Linked DNA regions of Homo sapiens: region 2 is linked to region 1. Evidence: promoter capture Hi-C in human tissues and cell types (Jung and others, 2019). All regions are on one chromosome and are shown on one strand. Each heading gives the region's core, a stretch centred on a gene start or on the middle of the fragment in contact. The rest is flanking DNA. Distances are from core to core; before and after follow the strand shown. Region 1 holds the start of MED28 (mediator complex subunit 28). Region 2 overlaps LOC105374510 (a long non-coding RNA gene).

Evidence for each region. Contacts are between HindIII fragments. The study calls those that stand out against the background at their distance.
Region 2: a contact is called between a fragment that was not itself captured here and the fragment with the promoter of MED28 in region 1, in 1 of the 25 tissues and cell types used here (dorsolateral prefrontal cortex).

The regions. Positions count from the first base shown.
Region 1 is chr4:17,612,390-17,618,903 of GRCh38, forward strand. It overlaps MED28 (mediator complex subunit 28), which reads left to right and starts at 2,252. Exons shown (of 4, transcript NM_025205.5): 1 at 2,252-2,424. The coding sequence starts at 2,266. MED28-DT (MED28 divergent transcript) reads right to left here and starts at 2,191. Exons shown (of 3, transcript NR_186331.1): 1 at 1,753-2,191; 2 at 1,543-1,649. RefSeq lists enhancers at 1,597-2,796, 1,902-2,191, 2,292-2,401. The HindIII fragment of the contact is 9,307 bases long and covers 1-3,470 here.
Region 2 is chr4:18,615,399-18,621,637 of GRCh38, forward strand. The region is part of intron 1 of LOC105374510 (a long non-coding RNA gene); the gene reads left to right. Among named protein-coding and RNA genes, the nearest start is that of LCORL, 600 kb to the left of the region's middle. The HindIII fragment of the contact is 5,154 bases long and covers 1,336-6,239 here.

The DNA.
Region 1 (6,514 bases), core at 1,002-3,501:
GGTCTCTTCTGGTTCTTTCAGTCATCACATATTTATTATATCTATTATGCCAGGCACCATTCTAGATTCTGGGGATACAGGTGAATAAGATGGGCAGGCTCTGATGCACGGAACTTATTTTCTAGTTGGCATGTGTATGACAGAGAGAGAAGGAGGAGGAGGGCAGGTGATTCAGTTATGAAAAAATGAACAAGATAATTTCAGATTACATAAATGTTGTGAAGAAAATTAAACAGGGGAAAGTACTTAGGAGTGGGGATCTAAGTGAAACTGAGGCTGGGAAGATGACTTGATCCGAGCCTGGTTGGCAAAGGGAAGCTCCTGCTTTTTCTCTGAACATTTCTGCCCTGGCTCACTCCTCTGGCAATGAGCTTCCTGTGGTTCCTTAAACATCCCAGGCAGGCTGCTTCTTCAGGGATCCTTCGGTGTAGAAAGCACTCCTAGTTAAATTTTCATGCCAGTCACTACAGTCCAGATCTCCTTGGAGAGGCCTCCTCCAATCACCTATCTCAAAGAACACCCCTCTCACTAGCCATCCCCTTACTGGGTTTCATTTTCCTTCCCAGCTCTTCTCTCTGCACAATATTGCTATGTATTTATGTGCTTGTCTGTCTCCTTCCAGAGATTTGGGATGATTGCTATAACCTCCAGATCATTAAATAGTGCCTGGGAAGTGGAGCGCTCAGTAAGTGTGCTGGGTAATAACTGTAAAATCAGATATAATGAAAAAAAGTTATTTGGTTTTAAAGAGATAAATAAGAAGGTTGGGCACGGTGGCTCACGCCTGTAATCCTAGCACTTTGGAAGACCGAGGCGGGCGGATTGTCTGAGCTCAGGAGTTCGAGACCAGCCTGGGCAACAAGGTGAAACCCCGGCGCTACTAAAATACAGAAAAACTAGCCGAGCGGCGGGCGCCTGTAGTCCCAGCTACTCGGAAGGCTGAGGCAGGAGAATTGCTTGAACCCAGGAGGCGGAGGTTTCAGTGAGCCGAGATCGCGCCACTGCATTCCAGCCTGGGCGACAGAGCGAGACTCCGTCACCAAAAAAAAAGAGAGAGATAAGCAAATGTTAAAAGCAGGTTACTACAAGATTAGCAGCCTAGTGCCGGGCGCGGTGGCTCACGCCTGTAATCTCAGCACTTTGGGAGGCCGAGTCGGGCGGATCACGAGGTTAGGAGATCGAGACCATCCTGGCTAACACGGTGAAACCCCATCTCTACCAAATATACAAAAAATTAGCTGGGCGTGGTGGCGGGCGCCTGTAGTCCCAGCTACTCGGGATGCTGAGGCAGGAGAATGGCGTGAACCCGGGAGGCGGAGCTTGCAGTGAGCCAAGATCGCGCCACTGCACTCCAGCCTGGGCGACAAAGCGAGACTCTGTCTCAAAAAAAAAAAATTAGCAGCCTGGCGCCTTGGCTCATTACTGTATTCCCAACACTTTGGGAGGCCGCGGCGGTAGAATCACTTGAGCTCAGTAAAACACCTGACTCAACTAAAAAAAAAAAAAAAAAAAAAAAAAAAAGCCCGTCGCGACTGCACGCACCTGTGGTCCTAGCTACTTGGGTGGCTGAAGTAGGGGGATTGTTTGAGCCCGGGAGGTCGAGCCCTGATCATGACACTGCACTCCGGCCAGGGCGACAGAACGAGACCCTGAGAAAAAAGAAAAGAAAGAAAAAAAAAGATTAGCATAGTGACTTTCTCTTTGATGTAACCATAAATATTTAAAGACATCAGTGCCGGGCACATTGGGAACCTCAACAAAGTTGTTTCCGTTATCCATCTCCGACCAGAATTCAGGAAGAACTTTGCCTGTCTTGTTCCCGCTATAACCAATGACTCAACAAATGTTTGTGGAGTGAGTGGGTGACCCTCTCCTTTTACCAACGGTAAACAGCCCGCGGAAAGAAAAAGTGACTTAGCCAAAGTCTCTCCAGGCATTTGGGGCAGAGTCGGGACTAGCATAGTAGTATCCTGACTCTCGCAGGAGGGCTCGCTCCACTGTAGTTATTAATTCTCCTCTCCACACAACCAGGTCTAATCCGGCCAAAGTCTTCAATTCTTAAGCTAAGAAAAAAGGAAAATACATGTAAACTCTGTTTTGCGATAGACAAGAAAACAGAAGAATTAAAAATCCTCCTTCCGGGGTGCACCAGAATCCTCCCATCGCTCGGTCCTGTCACGTGACCACGCCTACTACACCAGCCACGTGAGCTTCTGAGCCGGCTTCCGCGCAGGCGCAGTGGATCTCTCTTGCGCCATTCCAAACATGGCGGCTCCACTAGGGGGTATGTTTTCTGGGCAGCCACCCGGTCCCCCTCAGGCCCCGCCGGGCCTTCCGGGCCAAGCTTCGCTTCTTCAGGCAGCTCCAGGCGCTCCTAGACCTTCCAGCAGTACTTTGGTGGACGAGTTGGAGTCATCTTTCGAGGTAATATAAGACATGGGCGTCTTTGTCCCTAGCCTTCCCTTTTTTCTGAAACGTGAACTGCGCGTACGCGTATCTCCTCCAGGGATCCGAGCAACTAATTCACAAATGGGGAAACTGAGGCTTAAAGTAAGTCACTTGCTTTAGGCTTCCCCGTGGCCCGTATTCAATTCAGGTCTGCTGGCGGGGGCGCGTAAACTCGACGTTTGTGGAAACGTGAACCCGAAGTTTGCCTAAACCCCAAACTTGGAACCCTTCCAGATTCCCAGCCGGTCCTTAGTCTCATCCCCGAGCACCGTTTCTTGCATCCCTGCATGTTTAGTAAGAGGCTCAAGCCTTTTCGGAGCTGAGAGTTTCACTGCTGTATCCTGTATCCTTTCCGCTGGGCTTCACCTTTAAACGATCCTAAAGGGACTCTTAAGAGCGGAAATTGACTTAAGTTACCAGGCGCAGCTTGGTACTAAGAGCTGAGGAAGGAGGAATGCTGGAGGTTAGGGAGGGAGGGAGGCACAGGTGACCCAATCTCTCAGTTTTGCCCAAGGAGTTTACCTTGTAGCAAGAAAGGTGAACTGTATATTGAGGGAAGATAGAGAGGTGAAAATAAGTGCTCTGGTGATTTCCAGTAGTCTTTAAAGTGGAAGATGAGCTATTCCTGTGTAGTAATAAAGTAATGTACGTTCAAATTGGAGTTAACTTTTCCACATTTTAAATCCCAGTTTTGCCGGGCGCGGTGGCTCACGCCTGTAATCCCAGCACTTTGGGAGGCCGAGGCTGGCGGATCATGAGGTCAGGAGTTCGAGACCAGCCTGACCAACATGGTGAAACCCTGACTCTACTAAAAATACAAAAATTAGCCAGGCGTGGTGGCGTGCGCCTGTAATCCCAGGTACTCGAGAGGCTGAGGCAGGAGAATCGCTTGAACCTGGGATGCGGAGGTTGCAGTGAGCGGAGACCGCGCCATTGCACTCCAGCGTGGGTGACAAGAGCTCGACTCCGTCTCAAAAAAGTAAAATAAAATATAAATAAATAAAAATCCCAACTTTGTGACTTTTGTATTGTATCTAATAGCACAGTGGTAAATGAATATAATTTGCAAGCGATTATTCAGACTGCATGGACAAAATGCTTTTACCACACGGATGTACAAAGATTTAGAAATAAATGATTTGAGATGGAGTCTCACTCTCTCGCCCAGGCTGGAGTACAGTGGCGCAATTTCGGCTTACTGCAACCTCCGCCTCCCGGGTTCAAGCGATTTTCCTGCCTCAGCCTCCCGAGTTGCTGGGATTACAGGCACCTGCCACCATGCTATTTTTTTTATTTTTTAGTAGAGACAGGGCTTCACTATCTTGGCCAGGCTGGTCTCGAACTCCTGACCTCGTGATCCACCCGCCTCGGCCTCCCAAAGTGCTGGGATTACAGGCGTGAGCCACTGCGCCTAGCCAGAAATAAATGATTTAAAGGACAGACCGTTTAGGAGGAGGAGGAGGAGACACCTTTGAGGTGGTGCTAAGTGGTAAAGGAAGGGGCTGGTGAACTTTAGAGCAGCATCTAGCATTGTGCTTGAGGGGAGCTGGCTCTCAGTCATGGGCACTTGCTGAAAGACTGGCCCTGTACAAGTCTTAGCCAAAGTTGACTCCCAGCACCCTGCTGCTTAAAAACGTACAGTGGCTGCTTGTTGCCCTTGAGATAAGATCAAGATGTTTAGTGTGGTCTCCCAGGCTTTGCATGTTGCGTTCTCTCCTTCAGACTCGTTTCCTTACTGCAGCCACACAAGACTTTCCCACGTGTACCATTTGTTTTCTCTTTGGGCTTCCAGGCCGCTCCTCAGCTCACTGCATCACTTCCTCAGTGGACCCTTCCCTGGCCTTCTTTTTAATACTTACCATTAAATTCGGCTCCATGAAGTCAGAGACTACCTGTTTTGTACCCCCACCCCTCACATTGTGTAACCTGTAGTGCTAATACAGTGGTAGTAGATAGCAAGTGCTAGATGAATATTTGTCAGACATTGAAGGAATCTGTAGTGTGGAGCCTGTAGTGTAGTTGGCTTGTGCACAGAACTCCTTGCCTGATTCACATATATGTCTGTAGGTGCCCTTGAGAGAGAACTCCCTCTGGGACTTGATTATCCATACAGAGAATACAGAGAAAACCAGTCCCTGCCTTCAGGAAGCTTGTAATAAACGGCAGGCAGTTGCCTTGTTGTAGGATCACTGCTCTGATAGAAGAAACCTGGGGTACTGTGGGAGCACATATAGGTGTGGACATCAAAGAAGGCTTCCCAGAGAGCAGGAAAGCCAAAGAAGCATTTTGACTTAGCCAGGTGAAGGGGAGTGGGAGTGGTGCGAGCTGGATCCTCTCTGCTGCTGGGTGATCACGATCTGTCTAGTCTTGTCTCACGATTCAATTCAAAGGCCACATTTTCTTTGGAACTTTTCCTGTTTCCTTCCTTGTGTTCTGTGTGGACCTCAATTTTCACAGCCTCCAGTGGCACATAGCAGCACCTACTTACCTGCTTCTCATTCCTATTGGGGTGCCACTCCTTGAGGTCTCTGTCTGCTCATTCTAGCTGCTTAGCACATGCTCTTTGATGGAAGGAATTTATTGAGCTCATGCACTCTTGATTTTGGAGGGAACGTTGGAGACCATCTAGTTCCATTTCCTCCATTCATAGGTAGAGAAACTGAGGCTCAGTGAGGGCAAGTTACTTGCTGAAAGCCAGCCGTTGGGTTTGTGGAAATGAGGACAAGCACTTACTTTCCAGGCAAAGGCTCTGTTTTAGCCATGCTTTTAAAAAGCTGTTCTCTTTCTAGGCAGATGCGGTGGCTCACGCCTGTAATCCCAGCACTTTGGGAGGCCAAGGTGGCTGGATCACTTGAGGTCACGAGTTCGAGACCATCCTGGGCAACATGGTGAAACCCCATCTCTAACTAAAAATACAAAAATTAGTGGTCTCTGGTGGCACACGCCTTAATCCCAGCTACTTGGGAGGCTGAGGCAGGAGAATCGCTGAAACCCGGGAGGCAGAGGTTGCATTGAGCCAAGATCGTGCCACTGACTCTAGCCTGGGCAATAGAGTGAGACTCCATCTCAAAAAAAAAATATATGTTCTCTTTCTAAGCTACCACACATTTTCTTCTTAATACAGCTGTCCAACTGTCTATAAAGGCCTGTGTATCTTTTTTTTTTCTTTTCTTTTCTTTTTTTTTTTTTTTTGAGACAGAGTCTCACTCTGTCACCCAGGCCAGAGTGCAATGGCACGATGTTGGGTCACTGCAACCTCCACTTCCTGGGCTCAAGTGGTCCTCTTGCCTCAGCCTTCCAAGTGGCTGGGACTACAGGTGCGCACCACTACGCCTGACTAATTTTTGTTTTTGTAGAGACAGGGTTTCACCACGTTGCCCATGCTGGTCTTGAACTCCTGGACTGAAGTGATCCACCCATCTTGGCCTCCAAAATTGTTGCTTACAGGCGTCAGCCACCATGTCGGACCCTAAATTTTTTTCTTGAGTGGGTGGAGGGCAGTAAAATTCTTGAGATGAGATTTCCTGCCACCCTGTCTGGTAGGCCTCCTGGCTCAGGGGAGCTGGCCCAACTTTTTTGGCCAGTTTGTGACTGGTTGGCCTATTAATGGGATGTTTTCCAGTAGCCATAGGTCTCACAAAGGAAGTACATCCTACCCACATCCCAAACCCAACAAGAGTCAACTTTCGTTTTTTTTGAGACAGATTCTCGCCCTGTCACCCAGGCTGGAGTGCAGTGGTGCAGTCTTGGCTCACTGCAACCTCTGCCTCCCAGGTTCAAGCAATTCTCCTGCCTCAGCCTCCCGAGTAGCTGGGACTACAGGCACGTGCCACCATGCCCAGCTAATTTTTTGTATTTTTATTAGAGATGGGGCTTCACCGTGTTAGTTAGGATGGTGACTTCGTGGATCTGCCTTCCTAGTTAGGATCCTGACTTCGTGATCTGCCTGCGTGGGCCTCCCAAAAGTGTTGGGATTACAGGCGTGAGCCACCGTGCCCAGCCAGGAGTCAATGTTCAAAGTAATCCTGAGAATGGGCAATCTGTTTTTCTGATTTACTTTCTCTGT
Region 2 (6,239 bases), core at 2,663-5,162, 1.0 Mb after region 1:
ACACAGACATATAGTGGCTGATGAAAATACCAAATCAAAAGGTAAATTCAACTGGGTATGAGACATTTGCTTTTGTCATTCCCATGACCTCCTATTCCGCACCATATCTATTCACCCTTCTCTAAATGTTCCACATATTCTGAATACATTGCTATCTTATCATTGGACGTAAATGACTGGTCTACAGTAACTCAGCACATTTCTGAGGTTTCCATGTAAAATAGTTTCTCAGAAATAGTGTTCTTAACAGGTCCAAGTTTCAGATCGCTATAACACTTATTCACACACATATTTATTTTACATTATTTGCATTATCTATATATACATAGATATGTACACAGAGGGAGAGAAAGGAAGGGAGGGATGGAGAGAGAGAGAGAAAGCTTTTAATGTAGGCTTATAATTTAGTTATCTACCTAGGTGTAGATATTAATTTGTAAATCAAGTACATGTACTACTATCATTGGCAAATATACATGCAGGGCAAGGATCATTTTTAATGACCACAGATATCAAAGTATTCTTAATAATGTCATTAATTGGATATCTGACTTTACATTTGATTTTATGAGCTTATTGTTTATTTTACTAATAGTAGGAATAGGAGGAAGAAAATCAACTTTGACTTTTTTCTTATTCGTGTTCACATTTTGCGCTTGCATTTGCAGTATTTTCTTCAATCAATGATGTCTTTGAAGGAAATTTTTTTCAATTTATTTGTTCACTTGGTGAAGATTAGAGTTGCAGACATCATTGTTCTTTTCTGATATCTGGTTCCCCTCTACTTCTAGGTATGTTTGAGGATTTCTGTGTTACTTTGGGGTTAGGTGTTGTTATATGAGTATTTCCAGCTTATGATATTGGGCAAACGTGACATGTTGCCTCTGGGCCAGAGCATTTAAATGTTGGTGTTAAACCTCTTCTCTTTTTTCTGTTGTTGTGAGCAGTGACTTTCCAAAGTGGAAAGCATAACTAGAAGCTGCAATAATTACTTTCTATTATCCAAAAGCTGATCTTTCCAGGGTCTTAGAACCACCATGTAATCTTCACAGAACAGATCTAATAAGTAGTATAGGGTTATGAACATGACTGGATTTCCTATGGAAAACAGTAGAAGCAACCACATTCTGTGATCTGCTTCACGTGGGCCAAATCCCATAGATGAGTGGTCACAATCAGCAAAGTTAAAGATACTTAAATTTACTTATTGATTGGTTTATTTATTCCTACTTTATAGTAAGCTAAATCAAAGAATCAGGACCTCTACAGTGACTCTGCAGTTTAATAAACAAGCTATGCTATTCTACAGTTAGAAAGATCATAAAATCTTTGCACTTTAATAAGTTCATAAACCATAACATTAAAAGGGGCCAGGCACGATGGCTCATGCCTGTAATCTCAGCACTTTGTAAGGCAGAGGCTGGCAGATCACCTGAGGTCAGGAGTTCAAGACGAGCATGGCCAACATGGCAAAGCCCTGTCTCTACTAACAACAAAAATTAGCTGGGCGTGGCGGCACGCTCTTGTAATCCCAGCTACTTGCTGAGGCAGGAGAATCACCTGAAGCCAGGAAGCAGAGCTTGCAGTGAGCCGAAATCATGCCATTGCACTCCAGCCTGGGCAACAAGAACAAAACTCTGTTTCAAAAAAAAAAAAACAAAACAAAACAAACAAACAAAACTAAAAAGATATAAATTATTCCAGGGAATATTCACAAATCAGTGTTAAAACATAGATGTGGCCTCTTCCAATTTTGGAAGAGAAAATTTGTCTTGGGAAGCATATGCCAAATGAAAGGGCTTGTTTCAGTGAATTTAAAGAAACCTTTGAGTTTCAGTTTAAGTGTGTTGACCTTTAGCTTAAGACAATTTATTGTAGGAAATTGATTTTCACAGGTCCCTCAACAGGTCCCAAATGGCAGACTTCAGTGCCTTGATTTTGAGACAAGAATAGCATCATATACTGGTAATGTGGCCAGTGTCTAAGAAGTGATTTAAAAAACTGTGTTAAAAGGCAATTTTCTAACAGAGTCAATGTAACATTTACAGATAAATATTCAAATAGCTTGTTATAATCATCCATCTATCATTTACATACAGTGCATTAAATGAGAATGTATTTTGTCTACTAAATGTTAGGAGCTGGTTTGCAAAGACAAACAGGACATTGTTCTGGAAGGGCTCATAAACTGGTGGAGGAGAACAGAAAATCTATCCATTATAGAAGTCGGAAGAATGAAGTATGGCAACAGAAATAGCTTTGGGAGGTGGAGAGGGATATGGAGAAGCTTTTCTAGAGGGGACGACTGCTGCTCTGGGAATGGTTGGCCAGAAACATCAAAGGGGAGTGCATTCCAAGATGATGTATTAAACATGAAAACACCTGAGAGAACATGGGTCATTCAGACATTTACAGAAGCTTTGCTTCATTTACTACATATTCATTGTATTCATTAATTCAACACATATGTGTGGATACTATATGTCAGGTACTATGTTACAAATTTAGATTATAACTCTGAATGAGAGAGACATAGTCCCTACCCCAAAAGAGTTAACAATCTAGTAGAAGAGATTTATTTTTTGAAAAAAATTCCCCATATTGTGATAAAGAGCTAGAAAGATTAGGTAGACACCACTCTAGTGATATGAAAAGAGGAGAACTTAACCTGGATTAGTGGGGTCTGTGAAAGAAGTGATTTCTAAGCTGATATCTGAGGATGAAGAGCATTTATTAAAGACCAGGAAGTAGAAGAACATTTGAGGTAGAGGAAATATCATACAAAAAAGATCTTCAAGTCAGCAAGAAAGTGTATTACCTTGAGAACCAGGGTTATTTCAATGTGACTGGAAGAAAGGGTTTGAAGTGGGGATAACAAGCACTGAGTTGGAAGGACATGACTGCTTTTGGGACCTGTGTGCCTCCACACTTCCTGCCTATAGCTCTGAAGTGAGAGACAGTGAAGCTAAAATACACAAAGGTGTAAAAGAAAAAATAATTAGAGAGTCACGGCAGTGTTTATGTTCCCCATTCTAGCCATACATGAAGTCCGTAGGCCACCCTGTTCTATTACATTGGTTATTTAAATCTTCCCTGAATTTCACCAGTATTTTTGGCCTAACTAGATAGAGTTGACTTAATCTCACTAGCAGGCAAGAATACTAAGAAATGCTCTCATTAATAGAGCTTCTTATTCCCTTTCTCTAGTCTAACATTGTGTTGTGATTACTTGCCATATTCTTTCTTCCCAACTAAAGTATGAACAGAGGGGACCATGTGTCACCATCCTTGTTTCCCGAATACATGGAAGACGCAGTGAGAAGACTAAATAAGGCACATCACCCTGCCAACCTGTGAGTCAGGAGGCCCTATTTCTAGACTGACTGGCTATTACTAGCTGTTTGGTCCCTGTCCCGCTTCTGTAGGAATCTGTGCTTTTGTTTCATGTCTATGACAAACTTAGTAGATTAGATGCTGAGATCTTTGAGTTCTAAGTTTGAAAAAGCCTGTGAGTCCCCCTAATTAGGCCATACAGCTTCAGTGAGGTTCAGAATGAGTATTGCTTTATATCCTGTCAAGGCACTTAGCTTAGAGGTTTTTAATATTGGAATCCTAGCTCTGCTCAATATCCATCAATATTTACTTATTTCTTATTTTTTGAGACGGAGTCTTGCTCTGTTGCCCAGGCTGGAGTGCAGTGGTGCGATCTCGGCTCACTGCACCCTCCGCCTCCTGGATTCAAGTGATTCTCGTGCCTCAGCTTCAGGAGTAGCTGGGATTACAGGCACCTGCCACCATGCCCAGCTAATTTTTTTGTATTTTTAGTAGAGAGGAGGTTTCACTAAGTTAGACAGTCTGGTCTTGAACTTCTGTCCTCAAGTGATCCATCCCGCTCAACCTCCCGAAGTGCTTGGATTACAGGCATGAGCCTGGCCAATCTCCATCAATCTTAGCTTTCTCTTCAGTTATATGACAAATATTAATTTTCATTTTGTAGAGTTATTTTGAAGATTAAATGGCATGCAAAAAATGTCAAATACATTGCCTAGCATTTAGGTGCTAGAAATTTGAGCTCTCCTCCCTAGCCCATAGAAACATCAATCAATATTTGTTGTTTGTTTTGCCTTAGGTGTTAGTATAAAGCAGAAGGAGATGATAAAGTTAGGCAGAAATTCTAACTTTACTTCCCTAAGAGGAGAAAACAGGAAGGGTTCAGATTTTTGTATTCATGAGCCTCTTCCTAGTTTCAAGTTTTTATTATCTATTTAACAAAACAAATGTACTGATTCTCTATTCTGAGTCACTGCATTAGATTTTCTAGTCTTAAAGAAGTCAGCCCAAAACACCGAAAATGGAAATGAACCCAGTTTCAGACCAAATTACCTGGAACTCAAACCAGGAAATGTAACCTGACAAATACCTATGTGCTTTTGGGGGTGTCAAGATAGACTGTTTGAAATTGATTGTCTTGATTGTCATAGAAATGAGAACAGTGTATGTAAGAAGAACATTTTCTTCCCAGTTCCTGTCACATCCACTTCACCAACCAATTCTTTCTCATTGGTCAAATGTAAGTGCTTTTCCACATTCATTTCCTCTATCCACTGGGACATGAAATTGTCAGCCACACGTAAATACCTTCTATATCAAAGCTAAAGTGATACATGCCTGAGAAGAGGTGATAGACATATCCCCACAGGAATTCAGAGATGAAGACAGTATCTCCAGCTGGAACTTCTCTTTTCTCTCTATACTATTCCCCAAACCCTAGCTGCTTAGGGTTCAGCAACATCCACTTTCTCAAGAGCTGGACTGTAAGTTTCAGCAAGGTGAGTGAAAAATCAGTAAATTACACTGCAGAGCTTAAGTCAGGTTGCCTTTATAATTTGACACATTTTACAAGTGTTTGATTTAAAAACAAATGTAGTTAAAGAAGTTGGAACTGCAAATGCCCCTCTCCATTGTTTTCTGGTAAGGAGAAGTATTTCTTTAAGGCAAACATTTTCTGAATTGGATAGCCGCACACATGCCACAGCATCTCTCATTTTCAGTGAATCAAATTTTTAAAGGAACCTGCTTTTTCAGCTGCTCTGTATTGGATGCTCAAAGGATTTTTTTTTAAATAGGTTAAATTGAGGTAGTTTTTGGCAGGCCTGTAACATGCGCAGTAAATGCATGGCTTTAGGATTTTGTGAGTCAAAGACCAAATGGAGTAATTACTTGATGTCTGTTATGGACTGAATTATGTTTCTACAATATTCATATGTTGAAGGCTTAACCCCAATGCAGTGGTATTTGGAGATGGGGCCTTTGGGAGATAATTAGGTTTAGATGGGGTTATAAGGGTATGACCCTCATGGCAGGATTAGTGCCCTTATTAGAAGAGGCAGCAAAGAGTTGGGACTCCCTTTCTCTGCTATGTGAGGACACAGAGAGAAGATGCCCATTTGCAAGAGAGAAAGCGTGCCGCTTCCAGACCCCAACTATGCTGGCACCCTGATCTTAGACTCCTAGTCTCCAGAACAGTGAGAAAATAAATTTCTGTTGTTTAAGCTCTTCAGTGTGAAGTATTTTGTTACGGTGGCCCAAGCAAATATAGTCCCAACTTTTCTTCATGTATATATGTTAAGTTTCATGTATGGGAAACAAGCATGGAACTCTGTGGTTGAGTTACTTTCTAGGAAGATTCATGGCAAATAATGTCATTTTCATCTGAACAAATAGTGGCTCTGTGTGTCATGGCAGAAATGGATGGGAAAAGTGCATGATTTCCCCATGGTAGGAGTAAGATGGTTTTACTGAAGAGTGGCCTTGAGCCAATCCTGAGAAACTGTGTCCCAGGATGCAGCAGGACTCCACTGAAAGATGATGCTTGTTTCTCACAGCTCATGGACAGATCTAGGAGTTTGTCTCTCTCCTACCACCACCAAATTCAGCCTGTAAACTAAAACAAATGAGAGAGAAAGAAGCAAATAAATGCTGACTGAGGTCTATTCAGTGACTGTGTTTTCCAGGTATCCTGATGTAGGATTTCTGCAGATTATCTTAAATAATTATAATACTCTCTTTCTCAACCTAAACACCTTTCCCTCCTACCAATTTAGAGCTGGTTAAAGTGAAGCTTACAGAGAGAGGTTGATTGAATATCTCAGTATCACGTGGTGAGTAAAGATGGGGCTGAGACTTCAATCCAGGGGCATCTCATGTTTGTGTCATGTCTGACTGCTGTCAGTTGCAAA